Linked DNA regions of Homo sapiens: all the other regions are linked to region 5. The links are contacts of gene promoters, found by promoter capture Hi-C in blood cells and fetal thymus (Javierre and others, 2016). All regions are on one chromosome and are shown on one strand. Each heading gives the region's core, a stretch centred on a gene start or on the middle of the fragment in contact. The rest is flanking DNA. Distances are from core to core; before and after follow the strand shown.

The links. The method cuts DNA at HindIII sites, captures the fragments that hold promoters and counts their contacts. A CHiCAGO score of 5 or more calls a contact.
Region 1: a fragment that was not itself captured here is called in contact with the fragment with the promoter of SECTM1 in region 5 in 1 of 17 cell types (activated CD4 T cells); the score reaches 5.4 in activated CD4 T cells.
Region 2: a fragment that was not itself captured here is called in contact with the fragment with the promoter of SECTM1 in region 5 in 1 of 17 cell types (activated CD4 T cells); the score reaches 6.0 in activated CD4 T cells.
Region 3: the fragment with the promoter of FASN here is called in contact with the fragment with the promoter of SECTM1 in region 5 in 10 of 17 cell types (total CD4 T cells, M0 macrophages, non-activated CD4 T cells and 7 more); the score reaches 11.5 in total CD4 T cells.
Region 4: a contact is called between a fragment that was not itself captured here and the fragment with the promoter of SECTM1 in region 5, in 2 of 17 cell types (naive CD4 T cells and naive CD8 T cells). The highest score is 6.1, in naive CD4 T cells.

Annotation. Positions count from the first base shown.
Region 1 is chr17:82,574,783-82,577,482 of GRCh38, reverse strand. All of the region lies in intron 4 of FOXK2 (forkhead box K2), which reads right to left. It also overlaps the pseudogene ARL2BPP9. Among named protein-coding and RNA genes, the nearest start is that of FOXK2-AS1, 12 kb to the left of the region's middle. The HindIII fragment of the contact is 4,658 bases long and covers 1-2,700 here.
Region 2 is chr17:82,497,934-82,500,633 of GRCh38, reverse strand. No RefSeq gene overlaps it. Among named protein-coding and RNA genes, the nearest start is that of TRX-CAT1-8, 4.5 kb to the right of the region's middle. The HindIII fragment of the contact is 2,729 bases long and covers 51-2,700 here.
Region 3 is chr17:82,096,871-82,099,570 of GRCh38, reverse strand. FASN (fatty acid synthase) reads left to right here and starts at 1,335. Exons shown (of 43, transcript NM_004104.5): 1 at 1,335-1,450. RefSeq lists silencers at 163-1,642, 1,713-1,902, 1,923-2,132, 2,193-2,242 and an enhancer at 2,111-2,700. The HindIII fragment of the contact is 59,862 bases long and covers 1-2,700 here.
Region 4 is chr17:82,180,985-82,183,684 of GRCh38, reverse strand. All of the region lies in intron 8 of CCDC57 (coiled-coil domain containing 57), which reads left to right. Among named protein-coding and RNA genes, the nearest start is that of CCDC57, 31 kb to the left of the region's middle. RefSeq lists an enhancer at 2,070-2,700. The HindIII fragment of the contact is 7,884 bases long and covers 1-2,700 here.
Region 5 is chr17:82,332,507-82,335,206 of GRCh38, reverse strand. SECTM1 (secreted and transmembrane 1) reads left to right here and starts at 1,441. Exons shown (of 5, transcript NM_003004.3): 1 at 1,441-1,507. RefSeq lists enhancers at 18-87, 2,135-2,700. The HindIII fragment of the contact is 7,811 bases long and covers 1-2,700 here.

The DNA.
Region 1 (2,700 bases), core at 122-2,621, 240 kb before region 5:
TTGGCTGCGAGACCTTAACCCGGCCGCCCGCCACGCCCTGCATGCAGGTTGGGCCACAGGCGGGGTAGGAGCCTGCTCGGGGCTGCAGTGATGGACACCTTAGAAGAAGAGAGCTTTGTGCTGTCTTTCTCCTCCACCTCTGATGAATTTGCTGTTGTGGTTGGATATTTAGAGAACGTTATCATGGATAACGAGTTCCAGTTATTACAGAGAAATTACATGGACAAGTACTACCTGGAGTTTGAAGACACGGAAGAGAATAAACTCACCTACACACCTATTTTTAATGAATACATTTCTTTTTTTCTTTTTCTTTTTTTGAGACGGAGTTTTGCTCTTGTTGCCCAGGCTGGAGTGCAATGACGCGGTATCAGCTCACCGCAGTCTCCGCCATGTGGGTTCAAACAATTCTCCTGCTTCAGCCTCCTGAGTAGCTGGGATTACAGGCACGCACCACCACACCCCGCTAATAATATTGTATTTTTAGTAGAGATGTAGTTTCTCCGTGTTGGTCATCTGGTCTCGAACCCTCCAACCACAGGTGATCTGCCGGCCACAGCCTCCCAAAGTGCTGGGATTACAGGCGTGAGCCACCGCACCCAGCCTGCATACATTTTTTTGGTAGAAAAATATATTGAAGAACAGCTGCTGGAGCGGATTTCTGGATTCAACATGGCAGCTTTCACCACCACATTACAGCACCATAAAAATGAAGCAGCTGGTGACATATTCGACATGCTGCTACGTTCACGGTTTTGGACTACAGAGCAGAAAAAGAAGGCCGAGGACTAGACTTAAGCAGTGGCTTAGTGGTGACTTCGTTGTGTCAATCATCTTCTGTGCCAGCTTCCCAGAACAATCTGCGGCACTGGGTCCTCCCTCCAGCCAATGAATTGGAACATTCTGGATGTCACCAGCCCAACAGGCTCAGCTCATGATGACAGAATACATCTTGGAAAAAGACTGACTCTGTTTTGTAATTCTTCATTTATGTTAAGTATTGACAGGTCAAAACCAAAATGACTTAACCCTCCTAGACCTATTTCTCCTGAAACACCTTCTTGTATTCATTAACCGTAGTATTCCTCCCCTCCTCAAGGAGACACTTCTCTCAGGAGCTTCTGAGTCAGACGCCTCTGGAGCGAGCCCATGTCCAGCACTCCACTTGGGGGGTCCTTCCCCGAGCACACACGCTGGTGTGGACGAACCCGCCGCCGCCACCCGAGCACACACGCTGGTGTGGACGAACCCGCCGCCGCCACCCGAGCACACACGCTGGTGTGGACGAACCCGCCGCCGCCACCCGAGCACACACGCTGGTGTGGACGAACCCGCCGCCGCCACCCGAGCACACACGCTGGTGTGGACGAACCCGCCGCCGCCACCCGAGCACACACGCTGGTGTGGACGAACCCGCCGCCGCCACCCGAGCACACGCTGGTGTGGACGAACCCGCCGCCGCCACCCGAGCACACACGCTGGTGTGGACGTGTGGACGAACCCGCCGCCGCCACCCGAGCACACACGCTGGTGTGGATGAACCCGCCGCCGCCACCCAAGCACACACGCTGGTGTGGACGTGTGGATGAACCCGCCGCCACCCTCTGTCCCAGCAGGCTCTGCGTGAATCTTTGCGCATCTGCATCTCTTTATCTCTTCTTCACATGGGTCAGTTTCAGTACTTCAGCCTCAATGGGGTTCCTGATGTCTATCTAGGGTGTTACTCAAGCCCAGCTTGAGATTTCAGAATCTCCTGTGATCACAGCTTGTCTCGGCTGTAGCAATCAACAGAAAGAGACGTCCTCTACATAAAAGTTCCACGTGAAAAGCCACTCCTAGTCTTAACATTTGCAGTCCTTGTGTCGCTGTCTTCTGCTCCTGATGTAGTCCCACTGTTTCTAGAAGTCTCTTTTAAGCATTATTTTAAAAATATATATTTTTATAGATGAATACTCAGGCTAATCTAGTGGATATGATCTTGGGACTTCCATGCTTATCCACTTAAAGATCAAAGTACTATATGCCGTGTGCTTTTTAGGTGTTAGTGCTGTGAAGGCAAAAATGCTTTCTACAATGGCGTTCCTTCCTATTTGACTGGGCACCTACGAATTTATGCTGTGTGCTAGAAATAGACTAAAACATTCTTACAGCATGTTAGTGTGTTTGCGTGTTTGCTGAAGATCACTTCGGTATAAACCAGTTTGTTAGGCTCTCTGGGTTAGGGACTCTGCATTTTCTTCCTCTCCTACCGAGATGGTGTTCCACTGGTCCAGCCCGGCAGGAGCAGCAGGCAGGGCACAGCTTTACTGGCTGTTTGCTGCTTTGCTTTAGTGCAATGTGTGGTACATTACTTATCAGAAAACACGTATGTCATCTCTAGAAAGAAGAAAAAGCATAGTAGTTCAATGCCCAGTGTGTCCCTTTGATTTGTTTAATAGTAAAAATAAGACTCTGTACTGACTTTTCACTTGGCCGTCCTGGTTTTAAAGGACAAGCTACAAGCTCTGTGTTTTCTGTACTGAAGTGTCACTTATTAAATACTTTTGTACCATGAAAAAATCAAATCATAGGACGTAAATGCAAACAAAAGAAAGACATATGGCATCTTTTCAAATAGGATTCCTCAGACCATCTCATTTCACCCTCAGATGTCCTCTGTGGATTGACCAAAAAGCTATACCATAGGTAGACAATACAAAA
Region 2 (2,700 bases), core at 166-2,665, 170 kb before region 5:
ACCACTAGCCCCAGGCAAGAGGAGCACACAAGGCTTGGGGAGATCAAGCTTTGAAATACTTCCCAACACACAGTCTGGAACATTCTCCGAACATCTGACTCCCATAGTGTGAGCAGAGAACCTACTCTTGAATGCTGGTCAGGATGGGAAATCCCTCCTGGAGGGCAGATTCTATGGAGCTGGTCCCTGCCCCACAGCAGAAATTTTGCTGCAGTGAACCATTTCTTGGAATGCCTGTGCTTGCAGGGCACACGCCTGTGGCAGCACCAACTGTGATCCCTGGAGTGTGAAGTCACATCAAGGCTTTGCACATCTGAAACATATGCAATTGTCCTGAGAAATTCTGGAAGTTCCAGAAGAAATAACACACAAATTGCTAATAACACAGCAAAAGTAGCTGAAGAGATGTGTGTTCTCAGGACAGAACCCCTTCACACACTCGCAAGTCAGTATGTGTGGTGTATTGTTATTTTGTTTATTTATTGATGGAGTCTCTGTCTGTCGCCCAGGCTGGAGTGCAGTGACATGATCTCTGCTCACTGCAACCTCCACTTCCTAGGTTCAAGCGATTCTCCTGCTTCAGCCTCCCGAGTAGCTGGGACGACAGGCGCATGCCACCATGCCCGGCTAAATTTTTGTATTTTTTTTTTTTTTTTTTTGAGACGGAGCCTCGCTCTGTCGCCCAGGCTGGAGTGCAGTGGCGTGATCTGGGCTCACTGCAAGCTCCGCCTCCCGGGTTCACGCCATTCTCCTGCCTCAGCCTCCCAAGTAGCTGGAACTACAGGCATCCACCACCACACCCAGCTAATTTTTTGTATTTTTAGTAGAGACGGGGTTTCACCACGTTAGCCAGGATGGTCTTGATCTCCTGACCTCACGATCCGCCTGCCTTGGCCTCCCAAAGTGCTGGGATTACAGGCGTGAGCCACCGCGCCCGGTGAATTTTTTGTATTTTTAGTAGAGATGGGGTTTCATTGTGTTAGCCAGGATGGTCTCGATCTCCTGACCTCGTGATCCGCCCACCTCAGCCTCCCAAAGTACTGGGATTACAGGCGTGAGCCACCGCATCCGGCCAGTGTATTGTTATTTTATTACACAATTGTGGAGCTCAAGACAAAGTACTGTATCACAACAGAAATTAAAAACACTAATGGTCAAAACCATGAAGGAAAAGAATCGTCGTAACTAAAAAAATATGGAGAATGAAAATGACGATACAGACATTATGAGAGAACACACCAAACAGAAAGCAAAGATGCAGAAGGGAGCTGAAGGTCACAGACAGGAAAACCACAGCTGGTCCAGTCAGCAGGACACACACTGGGCTGGCCACAGACACACCCACAAATTTGCTGGTTTCAGTACCACGCTGTCTCATTACACCTGTTACGACGAGCAGTAATTCCACTCAACACTTTTTAGTGGAAGATTTATTGTTCAAGATTCCGATCCTGCAACTTGCACTTAATCAACTAAAACACATCAGACAAAACAGATGCTTCTCAAAACATTTTGAAACCATTTTTTTTTTTGGAGACAGAGTCTCGCTCTGTCACCCAGGCTGGAGTCCAATGGCACCATCTCGGCTCACTGAAGCTCCGCCTCCCGGGTTCAAGCGATTCTCCTGCCTCAGCCTCTCGAGTAGCTGGGATTACAGGCGCCACCACGCCGCGCTAATTTTTTGTATTTTAGTACAGGCGGGGTTTCACCATGTTGTCCAGGCTGGTCTTGAACTCCTGAACTCAGGCAATCTGTCCACGTAGGCCTCTCAAAGTGCTAGGATTACAGGGGTGAAACACCACTCCCGGCCAAAATAGGTTTTTTTAAACAGAAAAACTGCCACCTGATGTTGGTTAGTCTTTCCTAAGACTAAACATTGCCTATGTTGTTTGGTTGTATAGGTTTTTAAACCAGACCGACATTACCTACATCAGGGAGTCTTTTACATAAATGAATACCGGTTTTTTTTTTTTTTTTTTTTTTTGAGACAGAGTCTCACTGTCACTCAGGCTGGAGGGCAGTGGCACGATCTCGGCTCACTGTAACCTCCGCCTCCCAGGTTCAAGTGATTCTCCTGCCTCAGCCTCCCGATAGCTGGGATTACAGGCACACACCACCACGCCCGGCTAATTTTTGTATTTTTAGTAGAGACGGGGTTTCACCATGTTGGCCAGGATGGTCTCGATCTCTTGATCTTGTGATCCACCCGCCTCGGCCTCCCAAAGTGCTGGGATTACAGGCATGGGCTACCGCGCCCGGCCCCATCAGTGAGTATCTTGAGAACCCTCAACAATCACAAAGGCTCCGCATAGCACACGAAGGATTTGTGGACTTGAGTCACACAGAAATCACGAACAGAATGTACGTGGTGTCATTAGTGAAGAAGAGTGAATAGTAAACATGGAAGTCAGCCTGCGTTTCTCCGGAAATCACAACGCTGGAAAGCTGGTATTAAGCCGCTCTGGGCCGGGCGGGGTTGCTCACACCTGCACTCCCAGCGCGTAGGAGGCCGAGGCGGGAGGATCCACGGAGCTCAGGAGTTCGAGACCAGCGTGAGCAACAGTGTGAGACCCACCCCCCCACCCACCCCCAGTCCTCTACCAAAGACAAAGGAAAAACGCTACCGGGAAGACGCGCGGAATTCCGGGCCAGTCACTGCGCGGGGCACTTGAAATGCCTGAAATCCTTCCCGTCACATAG
Region 3 (2,700 bases), core at 86-2,585, 240 kb after region 5:
GCCTGCTCTCAGGAGAGGAAGGAAGCGGGACACCTGCAGAGGGGCCGGGGGCCCCAGTCTCCGGTTCCCCTTCAGCGGCCCGGGCTTGCTGAGCCCTCAAAGTAGGACACGCAGCCAGAGACACCTGTGGCCTCACAAGGCCCGCTTGCCCCCCATGGGGTGCCTGGCCCCGCAAGCGCGAAGCGGTCAGAAAAGGGAGGCCGCGCTTCAGGGCTCAGGCCGCCCAAGGGGCCACGATTCGAGGAATCACTCGGGAGGGAGGGAGCGCGCGAGGGCCGGGCTGAGCCCCCGCCCGTGGGTGCGCGCCTGGAAAACTCGCAGCCTCCGCCCTGGGAAGTGGGGCAGCGGCTCCCTTTGTCCGCACCACACCAGGTGGGTGTCCCGGCCGACTCCGCTCGCCACGTGGCCGCGCCCCTCCCCTCCGCCGAGCTCCAGCGGCCTGGAGTGCGCTCGCCCGTTCGGCCCTGCGCCTCGTCCGGGTCCCCGGGAAGCTGCTAAGGAGGGGCCGTCGGGTGGGTGGACGTCCGTCTCGGGTCTGGGTTCCCCGCCGCACCCGCGAGGAAAACCGGGGATGCGCTGCGATGACCGGCAGTAACCCCGGCCGGGGCGCCCGCGGCCGGGGTCAACGCCCGCACTTGCGCCGCGGCCCGCGAGGCATCCGGGACCGCCCCGCCGCCCGCCCATCACCCTATCGCCTAGCAACGCCCACCCGCGCGCCGCCATTGGGCCGGTGCGAACACCCCTGGCGCCCGATTGGTTGCTGCTGCCGCCGCGCCGCGCAACGCCGCGCCCTCAGCCAGCTCCGCGCGGGCAGCGACGGCGGCGTGGAGTCGGCGGCCGAAGTGCGGGCACGCGGGTCCGTCCGTCCTTCCGCGCGCCTGTGGGTCCGAGCGCCCCGCCGCAGCCGGCTGGACCCCCGGTGTGGCCACGGGGTAGTCCCCAGTGTGGCCCAAGCATTCCCATCCCGCACACGTGGCCCCGGCGGACACGGGGGTCGGGGATGGCTCGGGAGGCGCGCCGCGGGCTCGGTCGCAGCCGCGTGCGCGTCGGGGCCCGCGGGGCGGGAGGCGGAAGTCGGGGGGCGGTGGTTTCCCGCCCGCCCCGCCCCCGGCGCTCCTCAGTCCCAGCCCCACCCCCCCAGGCGCGTTCCCGCGCAGGGTCCCGGCTCGGGCGGCGGCGCGCACGAGCATCACCCCACCGGCGGCGGCGCGCCGGGTCCCGGGGCGCAGCCCCGACGCTCATTGGCCTGGGCGGCGCAGCCAAGCTGTCAGCCCATGTGGCGTGGCCGCCCGGGGATGGCCGCGGTTTAAATAGCGTCGGCGCCGGCCTAGAGGGAGCCAGAGAGACGGCAGCGGCCCCGGCCTCCCTCTCCGCCGCGCTTCAGCCTCCCGCTCCGCCGCGCTCCAGCCTCGCTCTCCGCCGCCCGCACCGCCGCCCGCGCCCTCACCAGGTACGAGCAGCCGGCGCTGGGGCCGGGGCGCGGGTCGTGGTCGGGGCTGGGCCCGGGGTTCCCGGGGTGGCCCGGCTCCTCATCCTCCGCTCTCGGGGCGCGCGTGGCCCGGCCCCGTATCCAGGGGTCGCCTGGGCGGCCTGTCCGGGTCTCGGTGTTCGTGCCCCTTCGGAGGCGCCCGGGGCCCCGCGGAGTAGGTGGGCGGATGGCGGGGGAAGGACGCCGGGGAAAGCCACCAACAGCCGCCTTCGCTTCCCGTGGGGGAGGCCGCGGACCCTGAAGGGCCTGGAGGAGCCCCCGGCTCGGCCTCCCCGCGCCCACAAAGGCGCCGCCGCATCCTCCTCCCGGAGCCGCCCCGGAGCCGAGGCCCAGCCCGAAGGGGACGCCGCGAGGGAGGAACGGGGGGGCGCAGGGGCCGCGCCGGGACCGGCCTCCCCATCACGTGGCGCAGCCCGGCCGAAGCGCAGGGGTCCCGAGCAGCCCCCGCCCGGGGCGAAGGGAGGCCGGGCGCGCCGCGGTGTTCCCACCCCCTGCCTGGCCGTCGACCCCGCGTGAATAGCAAGCGGCGAGGACCCAGCGTGCGGGCCTGGAGCTGGCCCGGGGCAGCCAAGCCTCTGTGAATCGCAGCGGGTGGGAAGGCGGCCGCCTCCCTGCCGGGACGGCCCAAGGGAGGCCGCACTGCCGAGGGGCGGCGCGCGTATCAGGCCCTGGGGCCTCGTGCAAGTGGCCAGACCAGCGCTGGCCTCCGCCCCCTCCCCCCAGGGCCGCACCAGCCCTCATGCTGGAGGAGGAGCCGGCGGCCTGGGCACCCGTTCCGGGTCTTAGGGACCTGGGCTCCAGGGAGGGCCTCCTGTGGTGTGTGGGTTGGTATGGGGAGGCAAGCGTCTGTGGGTTCACCCGCGCAGGTGAAGGGTGCCAGGCAACACCTGCGTGTCCTGGCCAGGAGTGGTTCTCCAGGTTGGACCCTGCTGGAGGGGTTGGACTGGCTGGGTCGGTCCACAGTGGGGCAGGGGCCACCTTTCCCCCAGAGCATAGGCTATCCCCATTTCGTCCCTCCCCAGCCCTGGTGGCTCTTGGGCTGGCCTGGACAGCGGGCCCCCACCCCAACACGGGTGAGCATGGGTGCTGAGTACCCCCCTCTAGGGCTCCCAGCCACCTCCATGCCCCGGCTTTGGGACCCTGCCTCTCCATTTCTTTGATGGCCCTTAGCAGGCTGGCCACCTGAGGCCTTGTCCCCATCTCAGGTGACC
Region 4 (2,700 bases), core at 174-2,673, 150 kb after region 5:
AGTCCCTGGCCTCACATTTTCTTGGGGGAGAAAGACAGTGAACAAGACAGATAGAATGTCTGGTCACGCAGGGGTGGTGTGGGAAGACATGCAGAAGGGGCCGCCTGCTGGAGGGAGCATGGCCAGAGGATGGTGTTTCTCAGTCTGTAATAAGAGCCATAAAGGTGCTCCTGCTTGATTCTGCACTAAGAATCTCCTCTTGCCAAGCGTGGTGGCTCACACCTATAATCCCAGCACTTAGGGAGGCAGAAGCAGGAGGATTGCTGGAACCCAGGAGTTGGAGACCAGCCTGGTTAACATAGTGAGACCCCATCTCTGCAAAAAGGAAAACAAAAACAAAGAATCTCCTCGTCTGTCTTGTCTGATTGTTCATGTCCTCATGTGTTTCTTATCCGTTGGGGCGAACACTTCCTTGAACAAAGATAGCATTCTATTTCCCATACACATTCAAGTCAACTTTATTACAGAATACATATGCTAAACTCATCCATTTTAACTCTACACTTGATGAATTTTGATGAATGTGTATGCTGTATGATATCATTTGGCTCTATGTCCCCCCCCAAATCTAATCTCAAATTGTAATCCCCATGTGTCAAGGGAGGACCCTGATGGGAGGTGATTGGCTCATGGGGGCGGTTTCCCCGATGCTGTGCTTATGATAGTAAGTGAGTTCTGATGGTTTAAAAGTGTTTGGTGGGCCGGGTGTGATGGCTCACGCCTGTCATCCCAGCACTTTGGGAGGCCAAGGCTGTCAGATCACTTGAGGTCAGGAGTTCGAGACCAGCCTGGCCAACATGGTAAAACCCCGTCTCTACTAAAAATACAAAAATTAGCCAGGCATGGTGGCTCACGCCTGTAGTCCCAGATACTCCAGAGGCTGAGGTGGGAGAATCACTTGAACCCAGGAGGCGGAGGTTTTGGTGAGCCCAGATCGTGCCACTGCATTCCAGCCTGGGCAGCAGAGTGAGATTCTGTCTCAAAAAAATGAATAAACAAATAAAAAATAAAATATAAATAAATGTTTGGTGGGCCGGGCGCGGTGGCTCACATCTATAATCCCAGCACTTTGGGAGGCCAAGGCTGGCAGATCACCTGAGGTCAGGAGTTTGAGACCAGCCTGGACAACATGGTAAAACCCCATCTCTACTAAAAATACAAAAATTATCCCGGTGTGGTGTCACACGCCTGTAATCCCAGCTACTCGGGGGGCTGAGGCAGGAGAATCACTTGAACCCAGGAGGCGGAGGCTGCAGTGAGCCGAGATGGTGCTACTGCACTTCAGCCTGGGCAACAGAGCGAGACTGGGTCTCAAAAAAAAAAAAAGGAAAAGTACCAATGCTGAAAGAAACATGTTGTAATAACGTTCTTAGCTCTTCCTTCCAGCATTCTTTTTTTTTTTTGTTAAATACTTCCATTGACTGAAATAAAACATCATGTATCTTCAAGAAAGCACATTTAGATTTACCTATTACTTGTGTATGTAGAAAACCCTCATAATATGAACTAATGCAGAAGAAAAAAAACATGCTGTGATAATGTTCTCAACTTTTTTTCTTTTTTTTTTGAGATGGAGTCTCACTCTGTCACCCAGGCTGGAGTGCAGTGGCGCAATCTCAGCTCACTACAACCTCCACCTCCTGGGTACAAGCAGTTCTCCTGTGTCAGCCTCTAGAGTAGCTGGGATTACAGGCATGCGCCACCACGCCTGGCTAATTTTTGTATTTTTAGTAGAGACAGGGTTTCACCATGTTGGCCAGGCTGGTCTTGAACTCCTGACTTCAGGTGATCCACCTGCCTTGGCCTCCCAAAGTGCTGGGATGACAGGCGTGAGCCACCCCGCCTGGCTTATGTTCTCAACTCTTGATTCCAATGTTCCTTCTTCGTTAAACTCTTCCATTCACTGAAAGAAAACAGCACATATTACAATATTTAGACTTTTTTATACATTTAATTTCTCTCCTCATTATGTGCACGGTTGCCTTTAAATCTCTGAACTTATTTGTAATAGCTGCTTAAATGTATTTATCTGCTAATTCCATCATATCTTTATTTCTGAGTCTGTTTCTATGGGCTGATTTTTCTACTGGAGAGAGCTACATTTTTTTCTACTTCCTTGCCCATCTGGTAAGTTTTCACTGGATGTCAGACATGGTGAATATGATGTTGGCGAGCATCTGGTTTTGGCTGTGCTGTTTTTTGTTTGGCTGCAGTTAAGTATTTACATGGCAGCTTGACCCATTTGAGACTTGTTTAAAATCAGTGCGAGGGCAGGTGGGGCAGGTCTAGAGAAGCCTTTTCACCAGGGCTGACTCAGCACTATGACTCCCAGACCCCACTGCGTGCCCTGGAGCGAGAGCTCCAAGGATGCTCCGCCGGCCGCCCTGACGAGCTCTGGGAATCAGCGCACGTGGAGCCCCGTGCTGGCTGCTTCGTTCCCACGAGTTGCTCTTGGCCCAGCCGGTGTTGGCTTCTCCTGTGTATTTGCATGTGGCTGTCAGCCACAGCTTCTAGGGGATCCCTGCACAGATCCCAGGTTCCCCTCCTCTCTGCCCCTCTGCCTCATAAAGCCCATTTCAGCCACTTCAGCTTCTCCAAACTCCAACCTTCATCTCCTCGTCACAGCAAGACCACCGTGCTCTGCGTGGTTTGCCGTCCCTGCGGGGATCCGGAATGGCCTGTGGAGAGAAGCCGGGCGGC
Region 5 (2,700 bases), core at 192-2,691:
CCAGTGGTGTCCCCTCACGGGACAAAAGCCTGCCAGCCTTCAGCTGCCCTCCAGAGCCTCACGGTGCAGGTGCTCCTGCCTAAGCAGCCGGACCCCCCTGCCCCCAGGAACTGCAGCCCCCTCTGAGTTGAGAGATCTAGTAGGCAGGAAAAAAGGAGAAGGAAGCTGTGGCTGCTGGGGGATGTGGCCTCGGGGACAAGCCCCTCTGTGCAGAGGACGTGGGCAGGTGGGATTTCAGCCCCCTCTCCAGCATCTCACTGGCAGCCAGGGTGGCTGGGGTTTCCCCGAGGGCGGGGGCTGGGGAATCTGACCTCTGTGCCCCGGCCATGGTGCCGTCTTGCTGGGAGGATGACAGGCTGTGTTTCACCTGCCAATTTGGCGACAGTTTCTCTTTTGGAACATCCCGGGGGACTTTGTTCTGTGCCACCCACCTCTGGACCCTGGGTCTGATGGCTGAGCTGCAGGCTCCAAGGTTCAGCGTCCAGTCTGGCCCTGCTCCGTCCATTCCCCACATTTGAGGGTTTCCCGGAGTTTGGTTCTGCTTCTTCCTCTCTTCCATGAAACTGGGGGCATTGCCCACGCCCCAGTGTCCCCCATCATCTGCCCGGTGGGGACTTGCCCACTCACGTGACTGCAGCCTGTGGGGCCTCCTCCTAGTGTCCCGAAGATACCTGGTCATCCTTGACCCCGCCCGCACCTGCCCGCGTGCCCCCTCGGGTTCTAGTGGAGGACGTGGCCCGCCTGCCACCCCGCCAGGCGCCGGGTCCTCCAGGCCTCCTCGAGCCACCTCCTGCCCACCTGGGATGTCTGTGGGTTCCCGGCCCGGATGCGTCTTGGAGCCTTCTACCCGCACCCCAATCTCCTGCCCCAACAGGCTGGGCCCCTCCTCCCGGGCTGGCCAGGCCAGCACCTCCGCAGGGGCCGCAGGACGCCTGAAGGCCCAGGCCGCAGGTGCAGGACCCTCTGCGGGGGAGCTGGGGGACATCACTCCTCTGCTCTGCGCGCTTTTATGAAAGGGCCTCTGACCCTCCGGGGGTCCAGCTCACTCTGCCCGCGCACTCCCAGGCATCTGGGGGCCGCCCCCCGCCCTCCCTCCCCGCGGCCCACTCGGCCCGCCCAGCTCGCCCCGTGCACAGACTCGAGGCCTCCAGGAGCGGAGCCAAACAGCCCCGCGGGGAACGCGCGCCGCACGCGAGCTGGACCCGCCCAGGCACGAACTCTCCTGGAAAAATGCTCCCGGCGGCTTTCCTGCTTCCTTTAGCGTGAACCGCGGGTGCGGTGCCTCCCGTGAAAATAATAAATTCACCGTCACGCTTGTTGTGAACGCGGGTGGTTCCCGAAACTTGGAGGCTTCCCGTAAACCCAGCTCCTTCCTCATCTGGGAGGTGGGTCCCGCGCGGGTCCGCCGCCTCCTCCCTGGCCCCTCCCTCTCGTGTCTTTCATTTTCCTGGGGCTCCGGGGCGCGGAGAAGCTGCATCCCAGAGGAGCGCGTCCAGGAGCGGACCCGGTGAGGCGCGGAGAGGGGCGGGCGGGGGAACCAGAGGGGCGGGCTCGGTGCTGGGGACTCGGTGCTGGGGACTCGGTGCTGGGGACTCGGTGCTGAGGGCCCGGTGCTGGGGACTCGGTGCTGGGGGCTCGGTGTTAGGGCCTCTTGGTGCACTGGGGTTGCCGGTCCGCGCAGGGATGGGGACTCTGGGGCTGCGGCGCCTCTGCCTCTGGGACCGTCACCCCCCGCTGGCCCTGAGCGTGCGTCGCAGGCCAGGCGGGCGGGGTCGCAGCGGGCGTACCCGAGTATGGGCGGGAACGAGCTGCCGGCCGGTGTGGGGACCCGCGTCCCTGCCCTGTGCGCCAGGCTCGACTCTTGAAGGGACAGAGGCGGCGTCTCGGACCCGGGGCTCCCCTAAGTCCGATGGGTCGGAGCCCCCTCCTCCCTTCCCGGTCCTCGGCCTCACCCGGGGTTCCCTGCGCCGTCGCTGCGACCAAGCTGGGAGCAAAACGCACTCGCTCATATGCGTGCACACAAGCTGGTGGACACACGCACATGAGCACACGCAGGCACGCGTGGACTGTTGCACACTCCACAGCCACAGCCTCGTGTGCACTCACAGCAAACTCATGAAACAGGAACCGTGAGGCTTCCCTCACCCGGCAGGCCCTCAGCTGCCCGTTCTCACGCGGGTTTTGCTGACTCCGCAGTAATCACCACATTCAGTTCCTTGCCCACTACTGGTGAATCACCTGCAGCTTGAGAAGCACGTTTTCTGCCGGTGGTCAGCAGAGGATCCCCGGCTTCTAGGAGGCCCAGGGCGACCGGCTGCAGGAGCCCGCGTAGGAGGCCTGTCTCCAGCAGGGCGGGGGTGGTGGCAGGGCCTCTCCACGGGGCTGCTGCTGAGCCCAGAGCGGGAGGACAGGAGGCCACCAGCAGAGGGGACAGGTGAACAGGTGCTGAGCAGGAAGGGTTAGCCCGGTCTAGCCCCAGGCCTGGGGGGCTTTGCTGCTCACCTGGGGTCCCCTCTGGGCCTGGCTCAGCAGAGACCAGGGCAGAGCCGTCCACACCGTGGGCCTGGGTGGGGTCCATGGCCTCTGCAGGCTGCAGCTGTCTTCTGAGAGGTGTTGGTGTGCTCATTCTCGGTAGAGACGTGGGGTCACCTGTGTTCCCTGAGCCCCTGCAGCAGCTGGGAAAGCAGTGTCAGCCACCCC